Regions from separate parts of the Homo sapiens genome. Here region 2 is linked to region 1. Evidence: promoter capture Hi-C in human tissues and cell types (Jung and others, 2019). All regions are on one chromosome and are shown on one strand. Each heading gives the region's core, a stretch centred on a gene start or on the middle of the fragment in contact. The rest is flanking DNA. Distances are from core to core; before and after follow the strand shown. Region 1 holds the start of TULP1 (TUB like protein 1). Region 2 overlaps MAPK14 (mitogen-activated protein kinase 14).

Region 1 (4,896 bases), core at 1,990-4,489:
CTCCAGTGTGCCAAGTTCTTTGCTGCCTGAAAACAGTTTGCACATGCTGTGCCTTGTGCCTGGAACATTCTCTTTTCTAGCCTTCAAGATCCTTCAGGCTGGGTGCAGTGGCTCATGCCTGTAATCCCAACACTTTGGGAGGCTGAGGCAGGCGGATCACCTGAGGTCAGGAGTTTGAGACCAGCCTGGCCAAGGTGGTGAAACACCATCTCTACTAAAAATACAAAAATTAGCCAGGCATGGTGGCACACGCTTGTAATCCCAGCTACTTGGGAGGCTGAGGCAGGAGAGAATCACTTGAACCCAGGAGGCAGAGGTTGCAGTGAGCCAAGATCACGCCATTGCACTCCAGCCTGGGAGACAAGAGCAAAACTCCGTCTCAAAAAAAAAAAAATTCCTTCAGATTTCAGTTTAAAAATGCCTTCCTTGGCCAGGCACGGTGGCTCAGGCCTGTAATCCCAGCACTTTGGGAGGCCGAGGTGGGCGGATCACTAGAAGTCAGGAGTTCGAGACCAGCCTGGCCAACATGGTGAAACCCCATCCCTACCAAAACTACAAAAAAAAAAAAAAAAAAAAAATTAGCCAGGCGTGGTGGCGGGTGCCTGTAGTCCCAGCTACTCAGAAGGCTGAGGCGGGAGAATTGCTTGAATCTGGGAGGCGAAGGTTGCAGTGAGCTCAGATTGCACCACTGCACTCCAGCCTGGGTGACAAGAGTGAGACTCCATGTCAAAAAAAAAAAAAAAAATTCCTTCCTCAGGGCAGGGCATGGTAGCTCATGCCTGTAATCCCAGCACTTTGTGAGGCCAAGGCAGGCGGACCACTTGAGGTCAGGAGTTTGAGATCAGCCTGGCCAACATGGTGAAACCCCTTGTCTACTAAAAATACAAAACATAGCCAGGTGCCTGTAATCCCACCTACTCAGGAGGCTGAGACAGGAGAATTGCTTGACCCTGGGAGGCAGAGGTTGCAGTGAGCTGAGATCGTGCCATTGCACTCCAGCCTGAGTGACAGAACAAGACTCCATCTCAAAAAACAAAACAAAACAAAACGAAACCTTCCTTCCTCAGGCAGCCTTGCCTGTACTCTAAATCCAGACTGGAACCCACCTGCTGGTCTCGTGGAGCCCAGTTCCTTTCCTTCTTGGCATTTCTCACAACTAATAATAATGAGATCATTATCACTAATTTGGGTATTTATGTCTCTACTATCTGTCTCTCTCACAAGCATGTAAGCTGCACGAGGGCGGGGACCACATCATGTTGTTCATCTCTGTATGACCATTATTTAGCATAGCGCTTGGCACACAATAGGTGCTCAGGAAATACTTGTTGACTGACACTCAGCTGTCAGTTTCCTCACCTTTAATATCAGGGTGTTTTCGTTTGGTTGTTTGGTTGTTTGGTTTTGTTTTTGAGACAGGGTCTCACTCCATTGCCCAGGCTGGAGTGCTGTGGCACTGTCTTAGCTCACTGCAGCCTCTGCCTCCTGGGCTCAAGTCATCCTCCTGCCTCAGCCTCCCAAGTAGCTGGGACCTCAGGCATGTACCACATTGCTCAGCTAATTTTTAAATTTTTTGTAGAGACAAAGTCTCACTATGTTGCTCAGCCTGGTCTTGAGCTCCTGGGCTCAAGTGATCCTCCCAAAGTGCTGGGATTACAGGCATAAGCCACTGCTCCTTGCCCTAATATCAGGGTGTTAATGTCTGTCTCATAAATATTATTGTGAGGGTGGAGTCAGAATGGGAGCAAGCCACAGTAGGTGGACAATAAATGCTATTATTATTATATGGTCAGAGCCAACTGAGGACTGAGGCCTCTCCGAAGTGGCGACTTGAGGACTGTTTAGAGTTGGATAGGTTTCATGGAATAGGGAGGGCGTTCCGGGAGGGAACAGCCTGAGCAAAGGCATGGAGGACAGAACTGTAAAGGCAGTAAGGAAACCTCTGTGGCTGGATGAAGAGTATGGCTTGGGATAACCCTGTGGTTAGAAAGGCAGACTGGGGCCAGATCAGGGAGAGCCTTGAATGTCAACCCAACACATTTAAACTTAATCCTTAGGCAGTAGGGAGCCAATGAATGTTTTTGAACAAAGGTGGCAACCGAAGAAATAGTATTTTAGAAAGTTCCATTTGATATGGATTTACTGTAATTAGCCAGGATCGTGCCACTGCACTCCAGCCTGGGTGACAAGAGCAAAATTCTGTCTAAAACAAAACAAAACAATACCACAAAAGCATGTCCCCTATCAGTGAAAAAAGAAAAAGAGTTAAGGGTATACCTCCAATACAGACATATTCTTTTTTTTTTTTTTTTTTCTGAGATGTAGTCTTGCTCTTTTTGGCCAGGCTGGAGTGCATTGGCAAGATCTCGGCTCACTGCAACCTCCGCCTCCCAGGTTCAAGTGCTTCTCCTGCCTCAGCCTCCCCAGTAGCTGGGACTACAGGTGCCCACCACGATGCCCAGCTAATTTTTTATTTATTTATTTATTTATTTTGAGACGGAGTCTCACTCTGTTGCCCAGGCAGGAGTGCAGTGGCATGATTTCCGCTCACTGCAAGCTCCGCCTCCCAGGTACACGCCATTCTCCTGCCTCAGCCTCCTGAGTAGCTGGGACTACAGGTGCCTGCCGCCATGCCCGGCTAATTTTTGCATTTTTAGTAGAGATGAGGTTTCACCATGTTAGCCAGGATAGTCTCGATCTCCTGACCTTGTGATCCGTCTGCCTCGGCCTCCCAAAGTGCTGGGATTACAGGGGTGAGCCACCGCACCCGGCTAATTTTTGAATTTTTAGTAGAGACTGGGTTTCACTGTGCCGGCCAGGCTGGCCTCGAACTCCTGACCTCAAATGATCCACCTGTCTCAGCCTCCCAAAGTGCTGGGATTACAGGTGTAAACCACCGCACCTGGCTCTAGTTCTTATTTTTTGTGAGAAATAAAGATAAATACAGGATCCAGTCTAATGTTTTCTTCCACATCCCATTGACAAATGACTAATCGGCCCCTCTCACCCCAAGCTTCTGGGGGCTTCTCGGGGCAGGTGGAGCTGGTGGCCATCCTGCAGGCTGCTGGGGATCTGAGAAGAACTGGAGTTGAGATTCTTCCCCCAGTGGCCTGGGCCTAGCAGGGGAGGGTCGTGGGCTGTAGCACCTCCCACAGCGCGGCCAGGCCTCCACTCCTTGAGCAGGGGGAAGGGGGGTGAAGTTGAGCCGAGATTAGCAGGAGTCGGGAGGGAGGCTCCTAGACCTGCAGAGAAAGGGGTGCGATAGGCAAAGGCACCATGCCTCTGCGGGATGAAACCCTCCGAGAGGTGTGGGCCTCTGACAGGTCTGGAAGGCCCCCAGTTCGTGGCACCTGAACCCTGGGGGGCCTAGATGGAGGGATGGGGAGTGGGTGGGATGGGGAGGGAAGGGGAAGGGAGACAGGCTGATCCCTTTGCTACCCTCAGTGGGCATGAAGAAGAAAGCCTGAGCCCGGAGGCCCCGCGGCGCCCCAAACAGGTATGCCACCCCACTTGGAAAGGAAGCAGAAAGATGTCCCCGCTGTGCGTAAACCCACGCAGGGTAGGGGGTCTAGGGGTGGGACAGGTCCCCCTTAGCAGGGTCTGGGGGTTGCATGTCTGGAGATCTGGGGGGAGAAAGGGCTGTTTGGGGACTTGGGGTTTCCAGGGAAGGAATAGGGACTTTGGAGCATTGGATATGGCCACGATGCATGGAAGGGGTCATCCTGCCTCACTCCAAGAAGGGGGCTGCAGTTCCCCCCGGATAATCTGCGGTTATTTCTGGCGGCTCAAGGGATTAGAGGGGGATGGGCGGGCCTCAGCGCCCCCCTTTCCTTCCTCGACCTCCTCTTGACCCCCGTTCCGCAGCGACCCGCCCCGGCACAGAGGCTAAGGAAGAAGAGGACGGAGGCCCCCGAATCCCCCTGCCCCACGGGATCCAAGCCCCGGAAGCCCGGAGGTGGGCGGGGTGCAGAGCCCGGGTGGACCCCCAGGGTGTGGGCTGCGGAAGGGAGGGGCTTGAGGGCCGGCGCGGGTGTCGCCGAGCCCTGGAACGGGGTGGGGGAGGAGGGGGCGGGGAGTGATGAGAGGGGAGGGATTGGGGTTGGGGTTGGGGTTGGGGTTGGTGTAGAAGGGGGTGGCGTTGGGGTAGAAGGGGGTGGGAAGCTGAATGGAAGCCGGGGAGAAGTGTTGAAAGTGGAAACCCAAGCCCAGGGGAGATCCCTAGGGTGAGGAGCCCGAGGGGGTGCGCCCAGGCTTGGGGGTAGCGGGTAGAGGCGCTGCCTCGCGGACCCGCGGATGGGACCCTGTCTGAACCCCGCATCTCGGCTCAGCTGGGCGGACGGGGAGGCCGCGGGAGGAGCCTTCCCCAGACCCAGCCCAGGCCCGGGCGCCGCAGACGGTCTACGCCAGGTTCCTCAGGGACCCCGAGGCCAAGAAGCGCGACCCCCGGGAAACCTTTCTGGTAGCCCGTGCCCCAGACGCGGAGGACGGTGAGAGAGGGCCCCAGGGACGCGGGTGAGGGGGCGGTGGAGCTAAGGAGAGAAGGGGCTGGCTGGACGGGAACGGCCCAGAGAGGCAGAAAACAACTGTAGTCAAATAGCCCCCACTTTTCTGGCCTTATCTTTGAGCCAGGTATTGTGCTAAGCACCAACTATGAGAGGGTGCTTTGTTCCCCCCCTCCACCATTGTACAGATGGAGAAACTGAGTCATAGAGCCGTTAAGGGTTTTTGCCTTAACCAGCAGTTAGGAGCCAGAAGTAGCCCAGATGGGTCTGACTCAAGGTCAGAAACAGACAAGGTCAGGGAGAAGCACAGTGGATGCAGGGAGATGGGGAAAGGAGGCAAGGCGAGCGTGTAAGGAGAGGAGGGTCTCAGGAGGAGAGAGGGAGGGCATTTCCC
Region 2 (4,896 bases), core at 1,248-3,747, 530 kb before region 1:
TTCCAACGGAAGTTAGTGCTACATCTCTGGTATCTTCAAGAAGTGTGTAGGAAAGTAATCAAGGAAAAGCATGAAACATTACATCTCAATAGATTTAGAATCCAAAGGATCAGTCATTCTTGAGATTAGGTTTGAAAGTACAAATTTGGAAGGATAGTATATGAACAAGACCATTGTTGAGACTATCAGATAATGAATTCAAAAAGAATATGCACAGAAAGAGAAAAGAAAATTTAAGAATGGATCATGGAGCAGAAAGAAAAGAGGAAGAAAAAACTGACCAATGGATGAAATAGGAGAATTAGAGAAACACAAGGAAAAATCTGAATAGCAGAGTACTTTAAGGTGGTGTTTAAAAAAAAAAAAAAGAGCACAATAAATGTTAAGATGTATACATTGTGACACTAAAGTTAGTTACTGCCTCACACCCTTAAAGTAATTAAAGCAGTAGCAATGATAATTCAGGAAAATGCATTGTATCTTCTAAGGTACCAGAATACATAATGTGCCTAAATGACATTCTAAATCAAAGAAGGCTGATCTTCCTGAGTTACTGCTACCTGAGATCCACAAGATCTTCAAAATTTCAGTCTGTTATTACCTAATATTTTTAAAACTAAGCAAGCCTTCCCAGATGCAAGAACCTTCAAAAACATACAGAAAATTAATTCACAATGTACTACTTCTTGCTCCTTAGTTTATGTGCAGCTCTCTTTGTGGTCTTCTAAACAGCATTTTATTTCTAGGAGTTTGAAAACGCTAAATACTGAAAGAAGACAGGAGAGAAAGGACACAGAATACCAGAAGAGACACTAGGGAAAATGCTACCTACCTACCAACTTGGACTTCATGCTAATTTCCTTTCCAGAAAAAATTCAAAACACCCTAAGTTGGGGCCATGACAATGACAAAACACAATTATTCATGAAAATTGGGTCTCCCTCACTAATTAGTTGTTTCTCAAATGTGCCAGTGATACACCTGGCCTCTTGCAAACATGCTTGTGCAAGTTCTCCCATCCATTAAGCTTATTGGGTTATAGCTAGGACCTTGACCATTAGAAATGCTGTTACTCTCCTAGAAATAACAAAAATCATGTTTAGAGAGGCCCAATTTATAATGCAGAAAGTATAGCATTTCTGCCTTTTTGCAGGTGGAAGGTTCATGTTATCCCATCTAGTTTTTACTCAATCAAATATACAGGGTTATCAATCCAAATATATAGGGTTATATAAGTGGTTCTCAACTAAAGGTGATTTTGCCCTCCCTACCCGTCAAGAGATATGTGGCAATGTCTAGACATTTTTGGTTGTCACAACTGGGAATTGCTATTAGTATACAGTGAGTTGGAGACAGGGATGCTGCTAAACATACTACACTGCACAGGTCAGTCCCCCACAACAAAACATTATCCCACCTAAAGTGTCAATAGGTTGAATTACCCTGGGTTATACAGGTTGAGTATCCCTAATCTGAAAATCCAAAACCTAAAATGCTTCAAGATCCAAAACTACAGAGGACTTCCAAAGCCATCTATGAGGAAACATAAATATGTCTCCTCTGGACTGATACTTTCTTTTTTTTTTTTTTTTTGAGACTGAGTCTTGCTCTATCGCCCAGACAGGAGTGCAGGGGAGTGATCTCGGCTCACTGCAACCTCCGCCTCCCGGGTTCAAGTGATTCTTGTGCCTCAGCCTCCTGAATAGCTGGGATTACAGGCACACACCACCATGCCCAACTAATTTTTGTAGAGATGGGGTTTCACCATGTTGGCCAGGCTGATCTCAAACTCCTGACCTCAAGTGATCCGCCCACCTTGGCCTCCCAAAGTGCTGGGATTACAGGCGTGAGCCACTGCACCCAGCCTGGACTGATACTTTCGAAAGGAGGGACCCTTCTTTTTTTTAAAATCTCTGTAAACAAAATATCTAGTATAGTGCACTGGAAATATTAAATTAATGAACTTACGAAAACAAAGAACAAAACTGGTATGCTTTTTTTCTTCACATGCTCAGATTGTGTGGTGTCTACATTTTAAGCCATAAGTTTGAAAATGCAATCAATACACACTTTTGAGTAGAATGACAGTAAGACACACATACTCACACACACACACACCTTCCTTCATATCACAGGCACAGTGACAATATCACCAAGGCCTAAGAGAAGTAAGTTTTGAGGAAAATAAGGAATTTGTAACCACATATTCAAATAACAGGAGCCAACATGTTCAGGGTCTAATGGTACTCAGACAGCAGGTCTAGACAAAATAAACATTTGTTCTATTACCTTTTTGTTATGTTGCCATGGGAATCTATGTTTGCAGGAAAACTTATTTTCTGCAACCTGATGATAGAGCAGTAAAAGAGGGGGAGCTCTGATGAAAAGAGGAGAGGGGTTTACATCTGTAAAGGCAGGGAGGACAATAAATAATATGGGTTTTTATAGGATCACATGTCTGTAGATAATCTTTCAATCTATATGATATATTTAAGTTTAACAGAGAAGTCCTTGGGGCCTCAAAGCTAAGACATTAATGACAGATAACAATGGTCTAACCTCTACTAAAAGTATTATAATGGGGAAAAGGCAGAGGAATGTAAAGCAGAAAAAGGGTCAAATAAAATCAAATAAAACTTAAATGTTTAACTGTTGAAAGAAGGTAAAAATGACTTTTAAAACATGATCCAAAAGTAAGAAAAACCCTAAAAGCCAAAGAAGTTAAAAAACACTCAATCTGCCAGCAGACTAATCTTCCTTTTTCAGCTAAACTCAAGAGCTAATCTCTGCTCCTTCCTTTTGGCAACAAAAACCTGAAAAAGTAAAGTCAGCCCATGTTATTTAAAGAGCTGGACTGGAATACCCTAAATTTCTAGGGCCCAACAAAAATACTGGCTCTGGCACTCTGGGACTGCTGGAATGAGAGTTGTGAGCATGGGTCAGGGCTTGCACCAATTCATCTAACTCCACCGTTCTATCCTATTCACAGTAGTGGTTTAGGGTAGAATGGGTAAGGAACCGAAACGAAAAACTTGGGACCCTAGAGCACAGTAATCTGTTAAAACAAGATTTAGGTCATGTCCTTCCTCTGGTCATAACCCTCCAAGGCTTCCCCTCTCACTTAAAGGAAAAGTCACAGTCTGTACAAAGGCAAATAAGACCCTACATGATCCCTGCATATCTGCAACCCTCTCCTCACCCCACTTTTCTCCCTATATTTGGCCCCTGGTTCATTTAGCTCTAGCTGTACTGGTCTCTTAGCTATTTCCTGGAGCACAGGGCCCTTACCTCAGGGCTTTTGCACACTTGCTAATCCTCAGCCTAGAATGTTATCACATCCTCACCCATGTCCAACCAGTGTCCTATATCACCTTCTTCAGGTTTTTGCTCAATTGTTACTTTATCAATGATGCTTACCGTATTCACCTTTCTTAAAAGTGCAACAGCCATCCTAGCACTCACTCTCCTTCCCTTCTTGCATTTTCTCCACAGCACTTATCTGACACACTATATATTTTGTTTATTATCTACTTCCACTGCCATCCCCATTAGAATATAGCTTCCTTTTTTTTTTCTTTTTGGAGACAGGGTATCACTCTGTCACCCAAGCTGGAGTACAGTGGCAGGATCACAGCTCACTACAGCCTCAACTTCCCAGGCTCAAGCAATCCTCTTAGGCTCAAGCAATCCCTCCACCTCAGCCTCCCAAGTAGTTGGAACTACAGGAGTGTGCCACCAAGCATCCCTAATTTTTTATTTTTATTTTTTAGTAGAGGAGCCTCCCCATTTTTCCCAGGATGCTGGTTTCTAACTACTGGGCTCAAGGAAACCTACCTTGGCCTCCCAAAGTGCAGGAATTACAGGTGTGAGCCACTCACTGCACCTGGCCAGAATATAGCTTCTTAAGGCAGAAATTTTTGTCTCTTTTGTTCACATTTCATCTCCAGCACTTACGGCAAACCATACATGGTAGGCACTCAAGGTATAATGAGTCCTGTCCTCAAGGAGATTACCATGAACCTATGCTCCTTCCCCTTTCTCTCTACAATCTTGTACCCTGTAACACTCTTTTGTAACTTTGTAACACAAAGTTCAGAAAATGGCACTAAAATATATCCATTTGCCCAAGGCCAAAACTTAGAAATCCTAGACTCCTCACTCTCCTATACTTCTTTCCCCCAACATTCAGCCTTGGAGCCAAGCATGCCCAAAACCCAGTATCCATTTGTCAAGTACAGAATTTACAAACCACCACTTCTTCTTCCCTATAATAAATTATTAAAAGACTTGAACACTGCACGGGAAAGCTGGTTAATTTTGTAAATCCTTAACACATACATACAGGTGTACCTCAAAGATATCATGAGTTCAGTTCCAGACAACCACAACACAGTGAATATCACAAAAAAATGAGTGACATAAATTTTTTGGTTTCCCAGTGCATATAAAAGTTATATTTACATGATACTGTAGTCTATTAAGTATGCACTAGCAGTATGTCAAAAAAATATATATATGCACATACCTTAATTTAAAAATATTTTATTAGCCGGGCACAGTGGCTCATACCTATTACTCTCAGCACTTTGGGAGGCCGAGGCAGGAGGATCGCTTGAGGTCAAGAGTTTGAGACCAGCCTAGCCAACATGGTGAAACCCCATCTCTATTAAAAATACAAAAATTGGCTGGGCATGGTGGTGCACACCTGTAATCCCAGCTACTCGGGAGGCTAAGGTGGGAGAATTGCTTGAACCTGGGAGGTGGAGGGTGCAGTGAGCCAAGATCGTGCCACTGCACTCCAGGCTGGGCAACAGAGCGAGACTCCATCTAGAAAAAATAAATAAATAAATAAATATTTTTTTGCTAAAAAATGCTAAGGGTCACCTGAGCCTTCAG

What was found. The method cuts DNA at HindIII sites, captures the fragments that hold promoters and counts their contacts. A contact is called where the count stands out against the background at its distance.
Region 2: a fragment that was not itself captured here is called in contact with the fragment with the promoter of TULP1 in region 1 in 1 of the 25 tissues and cell types used here (small bowel).

Annotation. Positions count from the first base shown.
Region 1 is chr6:35,511,239-35,516,134 of GRCh38, reverse strand. TULP1 (TUB like protein 1) reads left to right here and starts at 3,239. Exons shown (of 15, transcript NM_003322.6): 1 at 3,239-3,323; 2 at 3,445-3,496; 3 at 3,865-3,955; 4 at 4,329-4,487. The coding sequence starts at 3,277. The HindIII fragment of the contact is 7,738 bases long and covers 1-4,896 here.
Region 2 is chr6:36,036,693-36,041,588 of GRCh38, reverse strand. The region is part of intron 1 of MAPK14 (mitogen-activated protein kinase 14); the gene reads right to left. Among named protein-coding and RNA genes, the nearest start is that of MAPK14, 11 kb to the right of the region's middle. RefSeq lists a silencer at 2,919-2,968. The HindIII fragment of the contact is 3,983 bases long and covers 506-4,488 here.